3 separate regions of the Homo sapiens genome follow, and all the other regions are linked to region 1. Evidence: promoter capture Hi-C in 16 types of primary human blood cells and fetal thymus (Javierre and others, 2016). All regions are on one chromosome and are shown on one strand. Each heading gives the region's core, a stretch centred on a gene start or on the middle of the fragment in contact. The rest is flanking DNA. Distances are from core to core; before and after follow the strand shown. Region 1 holds the start of GRM3 (glutamate metabotropic receptor 3). Region 2 overlaps GRM3 (glutamate metabotropic receptor 3). Region 3 overlaps GRM3 (glutamate metabotropic receptor 3).

Region 1 (4,897 bases), core at 997-3,496:
TTAGCATAGTGGCAATCTAGATTACTTTAGTAATGCCTATATTGAATATACTTCTGCAAACAATTAGAATTCAGAGAGGAATCTTAAAGTGTGTGATCAGATAAACCAAAGCAGACTCCACCCCCTAAACTCCCTCCCACCCCCCCCCACCCCCCCACCCCCACCCCCCCGCCCACCACAAAGAAACATACTGTAGCTGTGCTGGACAGTTCTAAGAAATTCAAGCAAAGAAACTCTAAGGAACTATTGTTGGTACTTAACTCACACCTACCTCAACTCACATTAACCTCAACTTTGAATATTCCAATATGTACCTACATATAGACCCCAAACATATCTATTACTATTCAAATAGTAGAAATATTTTTATAAGCAAATTAGTTGAGTCCTTAACCAAAGATCTTTAGAGGTGTATAGTTTTGTTTTTCAAAATTTACAATATCTAAAATACTTAAAGTGGGAGAATCCTTCCTTAATATATTTACCTAAAAGTGTTGTACCTTAGAGAATTGTCCACCTTTGATAACCCAAGGAATAACTAGAAAGAAATTTAAATGAAATCCTTAAGAAACAAGCTTATTGGATATATCACCTAGTCTATTTTTGGATCGCAAATCTCCCGCCCTCTCTGAGTTATCTCACTGTCAGATAAGAAAATGGAACAGGGTCGATGAAAAGATATGCTCCCTGTCTGGCTTTTCGATTTTTCACTCAAGCCAAAAGGAGCAAAGGGCAGTGAGTTAAGGCTCCTTTCCAACCCTGCTTGCGGGAGGGCAAACCTCTGGCCGCCTCCGGCTTCGGAGCTTATCTGGGCTGCATGGACCAGGTCTCGCTGACCGTTGCCCACCTCTGCCTGCAACCTCCACACCCACATGAAACCGCCCGTATCCACGGATTCCTGTGCACAAAGCCTTAGGGAGCCCCCAAATAGAAACAAATTCTGAGCCCAGAGCTGAGATGGAGGTGGTTGGCTGATGAGACTGGTCTCTCTGGGGTCTGCGAGTGCTAGTTCGTCCCTTCACCTCTCGCACCCTGGCCGCAGATCTATGCCCTGAAATCTCCCTCCTCCCAGACACAGACGTGGGCGCACACACACAAACTCTCACTCATGCACACCCACATCGCCTCTGCCCTCCACCCTTCCCACTCCAGTCAGGACTGTAGGGACTGGTCCATGCTCTACCTCAACTTTCCCGGCTGCGCCTGCCCCACGCGGCACCCGAGCTTCCGCGCCCTGGCTGGGCGCCCTCCAGAGGGACACGTCCTCCTCTGGGACCCTTACCTCGCACCGACAACTCCTGGCAGGAACTGGAGCTGACCGCGGTGGCAGCGGCGGCGGTGAGCCTGCACCCGGGCTCTGGCTCATGGTTGGTCCTCCTCATCCGACACAAAAGAGGTAGCTTACTGGCTTTGTCCTTTCCAAATCCAAGGGAGAACTTATTTTGCCCTCGAAATGGCCAACTTGTGCGCGCAGCTTCCTGTCACAGTGCCCCCTGCCCCTGCCCCCTCCCGGCTGCACGCTGGACCACTGCCCGGTGGCAGAACATCCAGGCATCCGAGTCAGTGGGGAGTGGGAAAACGGAGGGGTGGAGTAGAAGAGAGGGAGGAGGTTGGGGAAAGAGGGGACCCAGTGGTCTTCCGCGGAGGGGAGGGGAGCTCTTCCCAGCCGAGTCCCCTCCTCCTTCTCTTATCAGGCAAACCCACTTCCTAGGCGCGGAAGCAACTTTCCTTCACCTTGACCAGGCTGAAGCCGTCGCATCTAATTGGGACTCTTGGCAGAAGCACGGACCTCCTGGCATCCTCTCCTTTTCATTCTTTCCTCCCTCTCTCGTTCTTTTCCCTCCCCCACCCTCCCTCTTATAAGGGTATATCTGCAGAGTCTTCAGTGAGCCAGGGTACCTAGACGAGAGGATTTTTATACGAAAAGCCAGGGTAGATTTGCCGACTGCTTTGCCTCACTCTGAAATCCTTAGGCAGTGCATGCAAAGGTCGGTGAATTTCGGAGTGGGGTGAAGGGGCATGGGGCGGTAGGGAGGGTGGCGGCTCCAACTTTAAAGCTCTGCTAGAGCGCTTGGCTTTCAGGTAAGCAGGGACTAACAGTCCTTACAAGAACTCTCCTGTGGTCCCTGGGCAGGGGGCTGACCGCATGCCAGAGGAGATTAGGAGAGCGGGAGCAGAGAGGGAGTGTGAGAGCCAGGGAGGCCGGTACGCAGCTCAGCCGTACTCGCGACTCAACTGCACACTGCGAGCCCCTGGAGAGGGTTTGTGCAGAACAATCTCTGGGTCAGGCGGGAGGCAGACGCTCCTGTTTCCTAGCAACCCTTATCAATCTTCTCCCTCTGAAGGAATTCAATTGGACAGCCCCTGGAGAAAAGCCACGCCCATCCGGGAATGCTGGGCTGCTGCTTTTTCGCATTCTCCCAAATTTCTTGGGTGGAATAAGATTATAGGGGACTGCTGAATTATCTTTCTTCTTATCCTTTTCTGCTACCACCTCGCCTCTTAAAGCTACCCCCAGCACCCCCTCATTGGTCCTTCTCTAGTCCTGCTATGGTTGTCGGATACAGTCAATGTTTCCTACAGAACCTCTTCTTTCTTCTTAAAAATAAATAAATAAATAGGAACCTTAAATCGGTGACGTAGGCACAAAAGAGAAAAAGGCACGCGGAAACAGCTTTAATAGGCTGCCAGCTACAGATAAAATCCTAAAGGTAAAATTCCAGGCATCTTTCTATGTCTAGAAACACATACTGTTTAATTTCCAAATTGAAACTTCATTAATTTTTGTACTCTAATATACTAACTTTGTATTAACCAAGGACTGAATTATATGAAGCCAGACACAATTAAACTTAATGCTTTAAATGCTACATTTAGTCTTTAATATTTAATGTTAAGTTGTTTAACAATTGCTGTCTTTTGTAACCTAGCCAGAACTTTTAAACTACAGAAATAATTTTACCTACTGATTCTTTTAGAGGGACAGCAATATTTAAAAGACACATGTGCATATATATATATATATATATATATATATATATATTTCATTGTGAACTCCACTAGATCCAGAAATTTGAATATATTAAAAAATAAAGTGTTATTATATAGTGAAATGCTAAAATTTTAGAAGTCCCCCTTTCAACGTATTCTTTCTGGAATGCAATAGCATTGACCACGTACAAGCAAAATTCCTCTTCCTTTGTGTTTCATTAGTATTTTCCAGCATGAATTGTTCACCAAAAAAAGATCTTTATAGGAATTTAATTTTAATTTTAAGAATTTATTTACTTTTAACAATGTCTGCCCAATAGACAACTGTATATCAAGGGGCAATGACATGAACATGAGAAAGATAAAGATTTATACACTGCAAGGCTTCAGATCCTCATGAAGCTGTGTGGGTAGATTTTGGTCTCTTTCAGAACGTTCCAGAAGACATCATTTTGCGCTTCCAAGACCTTATCAGAATTAGCTGGGATTGAGAGAAGTAGAAGAGAGCTGATGTTTTTGTCTCACACACACAAAAGTAGCTGATGTTTGCACAACGGAAAGTGCTGATAAACTGCACTCCATAGTCTGTATCTAGCTGTTAACTAAGGCTTGTGGTGAGTAGAGGCTGAAATGCTGAGGCAAATTATCAGTCTGTTATCAGATATTGCCTGATGAGACACTTCTTTCCTCTCCCACGTTACGCCATACACACAAAGGAATTCCTCAATGTGAATCCTGAATTTTCATCACTTCCTAGCTGCGTGAACTTGGGCAAGTTTCTTAACCTGCCTATATGTCAGTTTCATCATCTGTAAAATGGGAATAACAATTGCTCATACCTCAGAATTATTTTGAGGATTAGTAAATCCATGTAAGAAGCATATAAATATTAGTTACTATTAAAAATCCCTGGTTTATATAATAGTTAACTGATGGTATTTTAATTGTTGAGCATATTTAATTGAAAGCAATTAGTCTTCACTGTTTAAATTCGTCATTGATCGGGAATATAGATTGGCTTTTAATGTTTATTTGTTGGTGTGTGTGTGTGTGTGTGTGTGTGTGTGTGTGTGTGTGTGTGTTTTCGAGTTACTTTTAAAAGCCTCAAGGGATAGGTCTAAATAAAAACCTCTGACTAAGTAACATGTCAATTAAGAGATTACATTATCCCTCTCTTCACACCCTCCCCAAGTATTCTAGCTGGGCTCCATTTCTAAACAATCCTAGTTCCTTTTCTTAATTACATCTGATGTATCAAGTTTCTCAAATATTTTTCAAGTGAAACACATGTATTTGGGCATCTAGATCACTCCTTGTAGCTCATATTTTTATTAGTTTATCTAAATTTCACTAATTCATCTATATTTGTTTGAGTAACTAAATCATGATGTTTTTTCTTAGGAGTCTTTACCATTAACACTTGGACTTCTTTACAGTGATTTTTTAAATATGGCCTGTAGGCTGGGGGCGGTGGCTTACGCCTGTAATCCCAACACTTTGGGAAGCTGAGGTGGGTGGATCACCTGAGGCCAGGAGGTTGAGACCAGCCTGGCAAACATGGTGAAAACCCCTCTCTACTAAAAATACAAAAAATTAGCTGAACATGTGGTGGGTGCCTGTAATCCCAGCTACTAGGGAGGCTGAGGCAGGAGAATCACTTGAACCCAGGAGGTAGAGGTTGCAGTGAGCCAAGATCACACCACTGCACTCCAGCCTGGGCAATAAGAGTGAAACTCCACCTCAAACAAAAACAAAAAACAAATAAATATGGCCTGTAAAGTGTCCCATCTTTCATCCAGAATAAACGTTGAAAATGGAAGTACTGTCATCATTAATTACAAATAAAATGGCTTCCATGTCCCCATGCTGATCCATAGTTTACTCTCACTAGCATTCTCTTTGAAGC
Region 2 (4,842 bases), core at 668-3,167, 150 kb before region 1:
CAGGGACTGCATCTGCCTTGTTTACTGTTGGGTCCTCAGGTCCCAGCATGACATCTAAACGTATCTGTGGAATGAATGACTAAATCAGGACCTTGGCATTTACTCTGTCACCTATTCATTATGTGAACTTGGATGAATTTTCTTTTGTGTCAAGTTCTCAATTTCTCCATTCTCAAACAGTTTAGCCTAACCCTAAGAATTGCAGAGAGGAATGGCATAAATGTTATTCCTGAGATAATGCCTACGTGACATTGGATGTGTCTTGGGGCACTTCTGGCAGTTATGCTTAGCAAATGGAAGCTCTTTCTTTTTTCCTTCAAATTGGGTATACTCCAGTTACCACATCACTCTGACAGTTGAGTTCATTTTTATGTGCTTCAGTAAGTGAAGATAATAATGCTGACATCCTGAATTTTCACCTCTGTCAAGTGAGAAGTAGGGGCAAGCTCATCTTTGAGGAAGGCCTTTTGTAACTCTATGATTTTATTCTATTCGACTTTCTGGAACTGGTCTCAGGATAAAAAGTGAGAAAGAATGTACTGTACTGTGAACACAATCACAGTGATATTCCATTTCTTTAGATGTTTCATAGACCTCTCGACTTCCTTTTTCTTAACTGTATTGCATAGTTTAAGCTTTCTTTTACATCATAAATTCTGAAATTTTACTCAAAGTAAGTTTGAAAATTCACATGACACCAAACATAATTCTCATTTAAATATTTACTTTAGGATTCTGGATGACATAACTCTTGCACATGGAAATAATTTTACTGAACAATTAAAAAATGATTTGAAACTTTATTTATTTTTAAATATACTAAGGTTTGGAATCCAAGGCTCAGCGTTCAAAGTTTGGGTGTTTGATGAACCACCTTTGTGTCAACTGAAAAAGTAGACCAGGAGCATTAAAGGTATCTTAAAAAGAAATAAAAAAAGGAAACATACTATAAACCTATTGATCATCTTTCATTCCTTCAATAGCATTTCATTAATATTTAGAATGGATCAGAAACTGTGGTAGATGTTTGGGATCAAATACATCAATTTCCCAGAGTCCTCGTGCACATGCAAAAGCAGCACTGGGTCAGGTGACATGAATTTCACCTCACCCCTGTTACTAACGAGCTAACAGTCCTGGCCCCTGTTACTAACCAGCTGACTGATCTTGGGCGAATCACTTTCAATTCTTGGGATTCATCTATAAAACAGTGATGGGTCTCTTCCAGCTTTAATGATATTTGGTTACATTTATCTCAAATGAAATGATAGAATATAACTAAAAGAGAGTACTTAGGTAAAAAAGCAAGCCACTCTAGAAGTCATACACTTTCCTTTCTTGACATTCATTTGTTAATGAACAAAATTTATATATTAAAATTTTTTCAAAGCAATCATATTATAAATTGATTGCTTGCTTTTATAATTTCTCATTCCTTTGGTAAACATTTACATAATGTCTGCTCTATGCCAGAAACCATGCTGAGTATTTGAGATCAGAGATGAAATATATGTACCATGCCTTGAAAGAGCCCACAAGCTAGTAATAAAGGTAGAGAAGAAAACGTAAGTTTGGGTTAACTGCTATTCAAAATCAACACTTACTGAACACCTTTTATGCTTGGGATGCATTTGTGAACAAAATTGATAATGATTTCTGTTTTTTGTGGAGCTTATATTCTAGTGTGAGGATCAAACAATAAAGACTAAATATGAAAGTAATAGATGATGTAGTATGACAGAAGGGGAAAATGTCATGGGGTGAAAAAACAAAAGGTAGAGCAGGGTACAAGGGAAATAGGGGCATCTGTAGTGGGGGTTGGGGGTAATGCATTACACTGTTAAGAATGGCCAGAGTAGGTCTCATTGAGAAGATAACATTTACATGAATATTTGAAAGAAGTAGGGAATGGATTAACCACAGAAATATCTGGGTTAGGGGCAATATAGGCAGAGAGAACTGGCAGTGGAAAAGCCCTAATGTTGGAAACAAGGGTGGCTGGAGTGAAGTGAGAAAGAAGGAGAGTAAAAGGTGAGGACAGGAGAGCAGTCAGGATAGGTAGGGGCAGAGCAGGGAGGGTGGTGTGCAGGACATTGTAAGGCTGTTGACTTTCACTATGAGTGAAACAAGGGAACTCAAGTGGTTCTGAGTAGAGGAAGGACTTTGACTTAGATTTTAAAAGGGCATCCTGGCTATCATGTAGAGAATAGATTGTGGAGGCTAGGTTGAAGTAGGTAAGAATAAATCAACTAGGAGGCTATCACAGAAATGTAGGCTAGAGATGGTGGTATGGACCAGGGTGGTAGCAGTTGAGAAGATGATAAGTCATCAGATTCTGGATCTATTTTGAAGGTAGAGCCAACAAGAGATTTTGGTGTATTGGATATAAAGTATGAAGGAAGGCAAAATCCCAGATGGATATGGGCATAAGAAGGGGCATTTATCTTAGTTTGGGAAGTATAGGAATGATTCCTAAAGGAACTATCAATTAAATTGGATCTCAAAGAGACACAGGAATCACTGAAGATGCCAGATAAGGCAGGTGGGGGTGGGGAGAGAATCTTCTAGATAAAGAAATAGCATTCACAGGAAGTATGCAGGCAAAAATAGAGGCATGCCATGTTTGGGGAACTGCAAGTAGTGCTAATGGAAGGAAGAGTGAATGTGGAGTGTACAGCAGGAGATGAGCCTAGAGACCTGGGCAGTGGTTAGCTCCTGTGCCAGGAGAGATTACTATTTGGAAGAATCTTTAGCAAGGCATAGCTCTAAAAATCTGTTTTGCAAAAGGAATATTTAAACTGGGTTAGCTTCAAACAAGATCCATGTTGACCAATGCTGGAATTAGCTAGTGGGAACACATCTGAGTACCAGGGAGTATTTTAATCTATTTTTAAATTCACAGGAGGCCTAGTTTTTTAATCCTATAATGATGAGAGCTATTGGGGAATTGGCTAAAAGTGTCCCTTGTCAGAAGAATCTTGGAGTAAATGTATTGAGTACATGCAAATAGCCAGAAGAAGACTTTTTTCAGCCTAATTGAACAGACTGTTTAGTGTCTGCTAAGTGTGTACTATTGTGCCTAGTTTATTGCCACAATATTCAAGTTAGAAAAAACAAAGATACTGTTTCAGAAAAAAAGTAAAACAAATCTGCTTTTCAATAGCTAGGAAAAAATATTCCATAGTGCATCTCAAGCTTAAAGCAGTAATAATGCATACATACTTATAATCTTTTACCTAGCTCTAAGTTAAAAATATACATATATTTAGTCATATACAGGTTACTGTAAGCTAAAATCTGCATTCTATTACTATAGTTAGTTCTTTGACTTATTTTTTAAATGTACTAGTTAGCTAACTTAGCATTTTGGTATCCTCCCTTAGTAATGTATTTTCTTGTCCAATTCTCACTGCTGAGAATATTTACCTTGTGGCTGGTCTAAATTCCCTCTCTTTTATGTAGTTTAAATCTGTTTTTCACCCTCCTACTCTCTTCAGAGATGGAGAATGACTGGTAATGTCTGTCAAATTGAGAAGGCTAAAATAGCACTTTGTGGTCAGGTTTGCACAGCCAAACTGAACGGTAGACTTGAAAAGAGTAATTGAACAAGACAGACAAAAAGAGGATACTTTTGTTTTGTTTATCCAAATAATGGGCTTGTTTCTTTACTTTTCTTTGCCTTTTAAGACCCAAGAAGTCACTGGAATGAAGGAACATGTTTTGGTTCCATAAAACACCTTGCAAAGGCTCTCTGAATTCTAAGCGTTCATTTTATTTTAGCTGTTGATGAGTGAATATATTTGTATATTTGCATACTAAAAAGTAAGAAAGGAACTAGAATAACAAAGTTAATTAATATATGTGGTGAGTAAAGATAAATAATACCCTGAAGGGTAGTCTGATGGGGAGTATGTGCTGAATTCTTATTCATCTTTAAGAATTAAGTGCATTGCAGATACCTTTTACGAATACCTGAGAGTTAATTTATTTTTAGAGTAAAGATATTCTTTTTTTACTGACTCCAAGGTCCATTCTCAATTTTTAGAGATGTCAACAGGAACTAACCTGGGATTTGAAGATGAATGCTCATTTATTACTCTTTTTATTTATTTATTTTTGTTATTGCTATATGAAATACACTCATGGGAATACAGGGCACAGAAAAAGTTTAATCTTTACCAGTTTTAGTAGTCATTCTAATGATAAGAAGTGGTATCCATCAGATTAATTGGAGGAATTACTGACATAATTGATTTTGACTACTTTCGGCCCTCTCTGGGGAAAGTAAAGAAGTTATGCAACATGCAGTGTGGTGATTTTTGTGCTTATTTTCAAGGCTGCCTTGCAGGTAAGAATTATGGAATAGAAGCCAATGGTCATGAGGCATTTTTTTCATTATTACCTGTGATTTCATAGACCACTTGACTTCTGAGTGACCACTTATAAGGGAGATGTGAGAACTGCCATTTGCGCCAATGGTAGTATGATCTGAGCATATAAACTTTCAGGTCTTGGATGATACTTCTGTGGAAGCAGACTAGACATTGTGCAGATTGGAACGATGCCTGAGTGGCATGAGAGGTATTAGTAATTCAGGTTGATGAAAGCATTTTATCACTGTAATGTTTTTGGCATCAAAATCTTTGTGCCCCAAATATTACTTAATATTTTATGATTTGGGATTAAGCTATACTACCCAGAACAAGTGCCTTAATAAGCAGATATCCCATGTACCTAAGTAGAGAATGTAGACCTAAAGATTTTGTGCTTTTTACGTAGTAATGCATTCAATGCAATACTATAGTTAGAGAAATATTTAGACTGTATTTAGAAATAAAGAGG
Region 3 (4,593 bases), core at 1,695-4,194, 190 kb before region 1:
AACCAGGAAGATGGAAGAATTTTTTATAAAAGACTTACAACCTTCTCCAAACTCTAATTTCAAGCTCCTCATCACTCGGGTGCTTCAAAATCAGGTCTTCACTTTCAGAAGGAGTCGGATGTGGCTTTGGGTCAGGAGAATCATTTCTCGGGTTAGCTTATTATCCAATTAGTTCTGACCCCAGTTTCGAATGGGAACTTGGCTTGAATACCAAGGTGACCAGTCCTCCTAGGAATCATTTGGTAGAGAGGCAGCAAGTCTATACCTTAAAGATATCATAAGTCAATGGCAGGAGAGATTAAATTCATTATTTTTTTCTTCTCAGACAGAAGTCCAATTAAGGTAAGAGAATAGTGTGGCTCTTAGGCCTTCAGTAAAGGGAATATTACCTCCACTGCTTGGGTTCGCATTCATAAACACTGATAAAGATTGCAAAAGCTACTAGCAGTGGCCGGGCGCAGTGGCTGACTCCTGTAATCCCAGCATTTTGGGAGGCTGAGACAGGCGGATCATCTGAGGTCAGGAGTTCAAGACCAGCCTGGACAAAATGGTGAAGCCCCTGTCTCTACTAAAAATACAAAACATTACCTGGATGTGGTGGCACACCTGTAGTCCCAGCTCCTTGGGAGGCTGAGGCAGAAGAATCGCTTGAACCCGGGAGGCAGGGGTTGCAGTGAGCTGAGATCGCGCCATTGCACTCCAGCCTGGGCAACAAGAGTGAAACTCCAACTCAAAAAAAAAAAAAAAAAAAAAAGGCTACAAGCAGGAACATGGCTCCAATTTTACAACCAGGGCCTCATTAATGTTTCTGTGAACTAATCTGATGAATCAGAATTAAGATATAGGTGAAAGACAGTGTCATCTCCCTGGAAAGACTATGTTAGAAGTCAAGAGGTAAAGAAACCAAAATCCTTTGGTTAGAGCAAACAAAATATTTTACGAACCTCATGCAGCAAGAAGATAGGAAAGAATAAGAATGAATCACTGGCTGTCAGTAATTAGTTTACTTACTGATTAGGAACAAAATCACTGAAGCCTTTCTCACAGTCATCAGCTGAGTATAACAGCTGGGACAAAGCACCACTTAGATGTCTTCAGTACTCAGTCTTACGTGTGGAAAACACTCAGTAAATACGTAACATGCCACAGAGAAAGTGAATGTTTGAGAAAAGATACTAAAATAGCTTTTTTTTTTTTTTTTTTTTTAACGGTGCTATGACTTTTGAAGAGGACTCTCTTCAGTTCCCTTGAAATGTTACCATGGTTAGTCTTCATTATAAATTTTACTGGTTTTTCTATCTAGATTCTACGTATTATTGTTGAAATTGTCAATACTCTAGGCAACTCAGAAACAATCTACTCTCAGACTAAGAAGGAAGAATGGGGAGGTAGGGGCATAGGGAAAATAGAAATGAGTGGAAATTATGGAGATTCCAATCCTCCTACCCGCAATTCAGGGGACAGGGCTAACCTGATTTATTTGAGCTGAAAGTCCATAGTGGTCATTGAATCTTTGCTTAGGGACCTTCTTTAATGTGAACTACAGATACTATCACATTTTTTTCCTACCTTCTTTTCCCCAACTCTTGCCCTCTTCATTACACAGTGTACTGCTTTTTTCTCATCTGCTCTAATAAGTGTTTAGATTTGTAAAAATTTTCATTGAGTTTTAATGCATACAAAAAAAAGCATTTTGAAAAAGTGGGTTATCATGAAGTGAACACACACATGTAACACTGTGACTGTTAAGAAACAGAGCATTACCAGTTCCCTTGTTCCCGTCCCTATCATTCCACCCTTCCTCAGCCCCAAAGGCAATCACTATCTTACTTTCTACAACCATTGTATTAGTGTATTAGGGCTGCCATAACGAAGTACCACAAACTGAGTGGCTTGAGATGACAGAAGTTTATTGTCTCATGGTCTGCCTGAAATCAAGGTGTCAGCAAGGTTTGTTTCTTCTGAGGACTGTGAGGGAGAATCTCTCCCATGCCTCTCTCTTAGCTCCTGGTGGTATGCCGGCAATCTTCGGTGTTCCTTGGCTTGTTAATGCATTACTCTGATCTTCCACATTCACACAGTGTTCTCCTTGTGTCTCTGTGTTTATATTTTCCCTTTTTGTAAGAACACCAGCCATATTGGACTGGGGCCCACCCTAATGACCTTATTTTAACTTGGTTACCTGTATAAGCACTATTTCCAAATAAGGTCATATTGTGAGATACTAGGGTTATGACTTCAAAATATCTCTTTTTGGGGAACACAATTCAACTCATAACAACCACAGACTATTTTGCCTGATATTGAACTTTATATTAATGTAAGTATGTATTATTTTGTATCTAACATCTTTTGTTCAAAATTAAGCTTTATGAAATTCATTCATCATGTAGTGATGAGGAGCTCTAGTTTATTTTTATTGATGCATAGTATTTTATCATATGATGTGCCACAATTTATCCATTCTTTTGTTGATGGACATTTTTAAAAAAATTTTCTTTCAATTTTTAACTTATATAAACAATGTTCTATCTTTAGCTGGGTTATCCTAGAAGCAAACCCCAAGACTAAATTTGAATTCACGTAGTTGATTTGGGAGGTTATAGGGCAATGGAGAAATAAGACAAACAGGAATGAATCCAATACAGGATGTGTCAGTGACCAAGTTACTGCTGAGGGCAAGTGGGTCTCAGCCTCACTGGGGCCTTGTGGGAGACAGTGGAGTGGAAATTGGGACATAAAACCCCAGCTTACTCATCAGCTTGGATGGGACAACTCTCATTTGTCATTGGTTTATGGTAGAGTGGTAACTTCATGGCATTTTTGGTATGTTCTCTATAGGTAGAGGCTGTCTGACCAGACAAAGCTCTCTGGCAGAGAGTCACAGATACTTCTATTGAGAAGCCATTGGCATGTCTGAGAATAGTGAGTGGTAAGAAGATACAAGTGAGGCACTGACAGCATTTTCTACATGCTACCTTGAAGACTCTTGTATATAAATTTTGGGATATACATATATAAGCATAGCTCATTTTATTGTACTTTGCTTTATTGTGCTTCACAGATATTCCTTTTTTGTTTTGTTTTACAAATTGGAAGTTTGTAGCAACCCTGCATCGAACAAGTCTATCAGTACCATTTTTCCAACAGCATGCTCTCACTTCATGTGTCTGTGTCACTTTCTGGCAACTCCTCTTGCAATATTTCAACTTTTTCATTATTATTATATCTGTAATAGTGATCTGTGATCAGTGATCTTTGATGCTATTATTATAAATGTTTTCAGGTGCCGCAAACTGTACCCAGGTCAGATGGTGATCTTAATAAATGTTGTGATTGCTGATTCTGATTGCTTCACTGACTGGCCATTCCCCTATCTCTCTCCATCACCTCAGGCCTCCTATTCCCTGAGACACAACAATATTTACATTAGGCCAATTAATGACCTTATGATGGTCTATAAGTGTTCAAGTGAAAGAAAGAATCACTTAAAGTCAAAAGCTAGAGACGATTAAGCTTAGGAAGGCATGTTGAAAGCTGAGATAAGCTCAAAACTAGCCCTCTTGCACCAGTTAAGCAAGTTGTGAATGCAAAAGAAAAGTTCTTGAAGGAAATTAAAAGCACAACTCCAGCAAGCACACAAATGGTAAGAAAGTGAAAGAGTCTTATTGCTGATATGGAGAAAGTTTTACTTGTCTGGATAGAACATCAAATCAGACGCAAGATTCCCTTAAACCAAAGCCTAATCCAGCTCAAGGTCCTAATTATCTTCAATTATTTGAAGTCTGAGAAAGCTGAGGAATTGCAGAAGAAAAAGCTAGGAGAGGATGGTTCATGAGACTTTGAAGGGCTCAAGACTTCAGTGGAGGAAGTCACTGCAGATGAGGTGGAAATGGCAAGAGAACCAGAATTAGAAGTGGAGCCTGAAGATGTGGCTGAATTGCTGCAAACTAAATGATCAAACTAAAACAGATGAGGGGTTGCTTTTTATGGATGAGCAAAGAAAGTGGTTTCATGAGATAGAATCCACACCTGGTGAAGAAGCCGTGAACGTTGTTGAAATGACAAGAGAGGATTTAGAATATTACATAAACTTAGTTGATAAAGCAGTGGCAGGATTTGAGAGAACTGACTCCAATTTTGAAAGTTCTATTGTGGGTAAAATGCTGTCAAACAGCATCACACGCTACAGAGAAATCTTGTGAAAGGAAGATTCAATTATTGTGGCAAACTTCCTTGTTTTCTTATTTTCAGAAACTGCCACAGTCACCTCAGTCTTCAGCAACCACCACCCTAATCAGTCAGCAGCCATCAACACTGAGGCAAGACCGTCAATCAGCAAAAAGAGTATGGCTTGCTAAAGGCTGGGATGATTGTTAGCATTTTTTAGCAATAAAGTATTGTTAAATTAAGGTATATACATTGTTTTTAATACATAATGCTACTGTACACTTAATAAACTACAGTATAGTGTAAATATAACTTTTATATGCACTGGAAACCAAAAAACTTATGTAACTTGCTTTATCGTGAATTTTGCTTTATTGCAATGGCCTAGAACTGAATGTAAAATATTTCTGAAATATGCCTATA

The links. The method cuts DNA at HindIII sites, captures the fragments that hold promoters and counts their contacts. A CHiCAGO score of 5 or more calls a contact.
Region 2: a contact is called between a fragment that was not itself captured here and the fragment with the promoter of GRM3 in region 1, in 1 of 17 cell types (megakaryocytes). The highest score is 5.3, in megakaryocytes.
Region 3: a contact is called between a fragment that was not itself captured here and the fragment with the promoter of GRM3 in region 1, in 1 of 17 cell types (megakaryocytes). The highest score is 5.5, in megakaryocytes.

The regions. Positions count from the first base shown.
Region 1 is chr7:86,641,258-86,646,154 of GRCh38, reverse strand. It overlaps GRM3 (glutamate metabotropic receptor 3), which reads right to left and starts at 2,246. Exons shown (of 6, transcript NM_000840.3): 1 at 1,283-2,246. The HindIII fragment of the contact is 6,723 bases long and covers 578-4,897 here.
Region 2 is chr7:86,787,845-86,792,686 of GRCh38, reverse strand. All of the region lies in intron 3 of GRM3 (glutamate metabotropic receptor 3), which reads right to left. All of the region lies in intron 1 of GRM3-AS1 (GRM3 antisense RNA 1), which reads left to right. Among named protein-coding and RNA genes, the nearest start is that of GRM3-AS1, 13 kb to the left of the region's middle. The HindIII fragment of the contact is 2,560 bases long and covers 638-3,197 here.
Region 3 is chr7:86,828,407-86,832,999 of GRCh38, reverse strand. All of the region lies in intron 3 of GRM3 (glutamate metabotropic receptor 3), which reads right to left. Among named protein-coding and RNA genes, the nearest start is that of GRM3-AS1, 27 kb to the right of the region's middle. The HindIII fragment of the contact is 1,149 bases long and covers 2,370-3,518 here.